Linked DNA regions of Homo sapiens: region 2 is linked to region 1. Evidence: promoter capture Hi-C in 16 types of primary human blood cells and fetal thymus (Javierre and others, 2016). All regions are on one chromosome and are shown on one strand. Each heading gives the region's core, a stretch centred on a gene start or on the middle of the fragment in contact. The rest is flanking DNA. Distances are from core to core; before and after follow the strand shown. Region 1 holds the start of DBP (D-box binding PAR bZIP transcription factor). Region 2 overlaps PLEKHA4 (pleckstrin homology domain containing A4).

Evidence for each region. Contacts are between HindIII fragments. The CHiCAGO score rates a contact against its expected background, and 5 or more counts as called.
Region 2: a fragment that was not itself captured here is called in contact with the fragment with the promoter of DBP in region 1 in 2 of 17 cell types (megakaryocytes and endothelial precursors); the score reaches 6.9 in megakaryocytes.

What each region holds. Positions count from the first base shown.
Region 1 is chr19:48,636,108-48,638,807 of GRCh38, forward strand. DBP (D-box binding PAR bZIP transcription factor) reads right to left here and starts at 1,272. Exons shown (of 4, transcript NM_001352.5): 1 at 749-1,272. The coding sequence starts at 887. It overlaps CA11 (carbonic anhydrase 11), which reads right to left. Exons shown (of 9, transcript NM_001217.5): 9 at 1,839-2,037. The coding sequence ends at 2,012. It also overlaps the pseudogene SEC1P. RefSeq lists silencers at 860-979, 1,210-1,319, 1,490-1,709 and an enhancer at 2,320-2,489. The HindIII fragment of the contact is 6,625 bases long and covers 1-2,700 here.
Region 2 is chr19:48,848,474-48,851,188 of GRCh38, forward strand. The region is part of intron 13 of PLEKHA4 (pleckstrin homology domain containing A4); the gene reads right to left. Among named protein-coding and RNA genes, the nearest start is that of HSD17B14, 13 kb to the left of the region's middle. The HindIII fragment of the contact is 4,147 bases long and covers 1-2,715 here.

The sequences.
Region 1 (2,700 bases), core at 22-2,521:
TCGGAGAGGAGAGACGGGAGAAAAAGGGACGGAGACGCAGAGTGGGAGAGAGACCCAGAAAGAATGGAGACGGGGGTGGCAGAGACAGGTGGACAGATTCACAGAGATGGGGACAGAATGCCGGGAAGGAATAGACACACAGAAAGACAGCGAACCAGAGAAAGAGAGACGGAAGTTCAGGAATAGGGGGGCAGGGACAGGGTAGGTGGAGGGTTGGGCAGGTGAGAGAAAAAATGACAGCTCTGTAATTTCACTGTAATTACCCAACCCCCATCCCCTGCGCGCTGTACCCCCTTCCCCTCCCCCACCATCTGTAAGGGGCAGGAAGGGGCTCTATTCCTGGGGCACATCCCTCATCCCTAGACTCCATGTGACCCCATGACGCCCCGCCCAAGCCCGTGTCACCACCGTGTGAGCACCCGACACACCCCCTCCCTGGGACCCCAGGGGTCCAGACTCCCGGACCAAAAGGAAGAGGAGGCTGGGGCCTACACTCTTGTGAACTAAGCGGGGAGGACGTTGGGGACGTTGGTGCCTGGGTCCTTAGGGTGGACGGGCTTCAGAGCCGGCGCTTTTGGGTCCTGGGCGCTAAGGGATCTAGGGGCCTAAACACCTGAGTAATTGAGTAGATTAAGGTTGGGAAGATGGACTCCCCGCACGCAGGTTTCTATGGGACCCCACCCCACGGCACCTGAGTCCCTAAGGGGGTAGGGTGTCCGAAGTGGGTGAGATGGGGGTTAGAACTCACAGCTGGCCGGCTCTTTGGGCTTGCTGGTCCCCTGCAGAAGGCTCCGCAACCCAAGCAGCGCTCCCCCGCCAGGGGGTGTCCCGGCCGGGCCGCCCAGCAGCAGAGGGGCCGGGGTCCTGTCGCTCACAGGCCGCGCCATCGCCTGGCACCTGCCCCCAGGCTCACGGGTTCATGGAGAGGCGAAGGGCTGGCCTGCCAGTCACCAGCACACTCCAGTGGTTTGGACGAGTGTCTGCCCAGGGGCGGGCGAGTGTAGCCTGCAACCCTCCAGTATCCAGAACGCTGCAAATCCTAGGAGCGACGGGGATTTGAGGTCCTCGGTGCAGAAACGTGCAACTCAAGAGGGTCCCGGGAGATCATGCAATCTGGGCGAGGGGGTGTCCAGATCAAGCGGTCGGCTCTTTGCAACCGAGGGTGAGAGGGGACTCAAGGCGCTCCTTCTACAAGGTGGGCGAGCCTGGCTCTTGCAAAATCTGCAGCTCTCGCAACGGAAGGCGCTTTGCAATCTGCACCGAGAGGTGTGCGCGGAGGGGCGGAGGAGGGGGCAGGAGGAGGCGGCCGCCTTGAGGCGTGGCCAAAGCAAACTTCTTTCGCGGAAAAAAAAATCCAAACCAAAACACCCGACGCCACAGCGCGCGCCCCTCCTCCGGGTCCCCGCCCGGCGCGTCCAGCCCCGCCAGCCTCTATGGGCATGCAACCCAGCCGCGTGCCTCCCTCCGGCTGCAAACACGGACCAATCGTCTCCGACACCTTGAGACGCACAGCCAATGGGGCCTCTGGGTCCGCCAGGGCCCAGGAGGGCGCGTGAGGGGCTCAGCGCGTGAAGTTGCCTTGCCTTTCGGTGGGAGGCGGGACACTGACCTACATTTGCCCAATGGGAGGCGGTACTGGGGGGCGGGACCGTGACCCAGTTTGGGCCAATGAGGCAGGCGGGAGGGGGAAGCACATGGCTCTGCTCGTGCTGCCTGATGGCGAGGGGGGTGATGGGGGGAAAAGGGGCGCCGCTTAAAGGGGCCGCGGTCCTAAAGATGGTTTTGAGAAGCAGGAAGCCAAAATACCGAGAGCGGAGGTTTAGAAAGAGGAAGATTGGTTTCCGGAAGAAGTCTGTTCTTTAATACCCAAATGTTTCCCCACCGCGCCTAGAATCAGACCACTGAGAAAACAGGAAGTATTCTGTCCCTTTAATAGCTTTGTTTTAGGGGTAACTCCCCTCGCCTTGTGGGGAGGCTTAGGACGGGCGGGTGCAATCCTCGAAGGGGAGTCTCAGCGACCATGGGGGACACCATCCACTGTAAGACAGAGAACAACGGCAGGGGGCGTCAGTATAGGATGGAAGGGGCGGGGGGTGTGCAGGGGGCGTGGGCTGCGCCGCGCTGGGCCCTACCGTCGGAAGTCTGCGAGCGGGGAACCAGAATGTACTAGGTCGAGAAGCACTGGGCTGAACCACAAGAAGCCAATAGGAGGGGGGAATCGGGACGTCCAGATTCAGCAGTAGGCTGAACTACTTGAAGGTCTTCATGGGGGGGGGGGGGTGTGGACTGTACCATGTTGCGAAGCCGGGGGTGTGTGAGATTCCTGGGCTAAACCACAGGGAGGCAGAGGTGGAGGGAAGGGGTTGTACCTTGTAGATTCTCAGTAAGGGGGAAGGGAGCATCAGATTGTGGAACAGCGTAAGGTAGTACGACTTGGAAAGGGAGAGAGGATCCAAATTGTACCATTTTGGAAATTCACAGTAATAGGAAGCACAGAACAGTAGGTAATTGGACCATAGGAAGGCAGGGGTCAAGGGTTATAGACCAAGTTACAAAGCAGTGAAGAGGAAAGACAAATCGTGGGCTAGCAATGGCCTAGGGCTGGCAGGTGGACTGTACCACATAGACATGTAGGGAAAGAGAGAAAAAGAGACAGCTCACGAGGCTAGACCATATAGACGCAGGAAGGAGGATGGGACT
Region 2 (2,715 bases), core at 216-2,715, 210 kb after region 1:
AGACTCCGTCTCAAAAAAAAAAAAAAAACTGTCTTTTGGCCAGGCGTGGTGGCTCACACCTGTAATCCCAGCATTTTGGGAAGCCGAGGCGGGTGGATCACCAGAGGTCAGAAGTTCAAGACCAGCCTGGCCAACATGGTGAACCCTCGTGTCTACTAAAAATACAAAAAAAAATTAGCCGGGGGTGGTGGTGCATGCCTGTGATCCCAGCCACTCGGGAGGCTGAGGCAGGAGAATTGCTTGAACCCAGGAGGTGGAGGTTGCAGTGAGCTGAGATCGTGCCACTGCACTCCAGCCTGTGCAACAGAGCGAGACACTGTCTCAAAAAAAAAAAAAAGAAAAAGAAAAAACTGTCTTTTCTTTCTATGTTGTTTTACTGTGTTACATCTATTATAAATAGGTGACCATACGAATATGAGAGTCTGTTCTTTTTGTTTGTTTTTGGAGACAGTCCCTCCCTCTGTCACCCAGGCTGGCGTGCAATGGCTTGATCATAGCTCACTGCATCCTCGAACTCTTGGGCTTAAGCGATCCTTCCACCTCAGCCTCCTGAGTAACTGGGACCACAGGCGTGCACAACCAGGCCCAGCTAATTTTTTCACTTTTATTTTTAGTAGAGACAGAGTTTCACCATGTTGCCCAGGCTAGCCTCAAACTCCTGGGCTCAGGTGATCCACCTGCCTCATCCTCCTAAAGTGCTGGGATTACAGGTGTGAGCCACTGCAGCTGGCATGGGTCTGTTCTTGCCAAGTCTGGATTGTAGATCTAGTGGGAGCAGCTTAGAGTGAGAAGATGCATTTAAAACTAGGCATCAATGGTTTTTTGTTTTTTGGGGTTGTTGTTGTTGTTTTTTAAGATGGAGTCTCTCCCTATCACCCAGGCTGGAGTGCAGTGTCACGATCTCGGCTCACTGCAACCTCCGCCTCCCGGGTTCAAGCGATTCTCCTGCCTCAGCCTCCTGAGTAGCTGGGACTACAGGCGTGCACCAGCACACCCAGCAAATTTTTCTATTTTTAGTAGAGACAGGGTTTCACCATGTTCGTCAGATTGGTCTCCAACTCCTGACCTCAAGTGATCCACCTGCCTTGGCCTCCCAAAGTGCTGGGACTACAGGCGTGAGCCAACACGCCCGGCCGTGTCAATGTTTTTAAAGATACATGATTTAGAACTTGATGGCTAGATTTAGAGTGAAAAAGCAGGTCTGAGGCTAAGCAATGAGGTTTATATTTTAGGAGCAGAGCTTGCACTAAAGGAATGGGTTCAGAACTGGAACTCCAGAGGATAAATTTAACAGCAAAAGTCAGGATGCAGGATGCAAGAGATGAACTTGCAAGATGGAAAAAAGGCTGAGGGTTGGAGTTTTGCTGGTGAGAGCATGGCTTCAACAAGAGGAGAGATTTAGAACCAGGGGAGAGAGCAGCTCTGGATCTGAAGTAGGTATTAAAACGAAAGGCATTGGCCGGGCGCAGTAGCTCATGCCTATAATCCCAGCACTTTGGGAGGCCGAGGCAGGCGGATCAGAAGGTCAGGAGTTCAAGACCACCCTAATCAACATGGTGAAACCCCGTCTCTACTAAAAATACAAAAATTAGCCAGGCGTGGTGGCACACGCCTGTAGTCCCAGCTAGAGGCTGAGGCAGGAGAATCACTTGAACCCGGGAGGCAGAGGTTGCAGTGAGCCGAGATCACACCACTGCACTCCAGCCTGGGCAACAGAGCAAGACTCCATCTCATAAATAAATAAGAGGGCGGCCAGGCGCCGTGACTCACGCCTGTAATCCCAGCACTTTGGGAGGCCGAGGCGGGTGGATCATGAGGTCAAGAGATCTAGACCATCCTGGCCAACATGGTGAAACCCCATCTCTACTAAAAATACAAAAATTAGCTGGGCATGGTGGCACACACCTGTAGTCTCAGCTACTGGGGAAGCTGCGGCAGGAGAATTGCTTGAGCCTGGGAGGTGGAGGTTGCAGTGAGTCGAGATTGTGCCACTGCACTCCAGCCTGGCGACAGAGCAAGACTATGTCTCACACACACAAAAAAAGAAAATAAAAAATAGAAGGGCTGTGTGCGGTGGCTCACGCCTGTAATCTCAGCACTTTGGGAAGCTGAGGCGGGTGGATCACCTGAGGTCAGGAGTTCAAGACCAGCCGGACCAACATGGAGAAACCCCGTCTCTCATAAAACTACAAAATTAGCCAGACATGGTGGTGCATGCCTGTAATCCCAGCTACTCGGGAGGCTGAGGCAGGAGAATTGCTTGAACCTGGGAGGCGGATGTTGCGGTGAACCGAGATTGCACCATTGCACTCCGGTCTGGGCAACAGAACGAGACTCTATCTCAAAAAATATAATAAAATAAATAAAATAAAAATAAAAGAGTAGGCCAGGCACAGTGGCTCACACCGGTAATCCCAGAACTTTGGGAGGCCGAGGTGGGTGGATCACCTGAGGTCAGGAGTTCGAGACCAGCCTGACCAACATGGTGAAACCCCCCTCTCTACCGAAAATAGAAAAATTAACCGGGCATGGTGGTGGTCATCTGTAATCCCAGGTACTTGGGAGGCTGAGGGAGGAGAATCGTTTGAACCTGGGAGGCGGAGGTTGCAGTGAGCCAAGATTGTGCTACTGCACTCCAGCCTGGGCAATAAAGCGAGACTGTCTCAAAAATAAAAATAAAAAATAAAAGAGTATAATGGATTGTTTGTAACACAA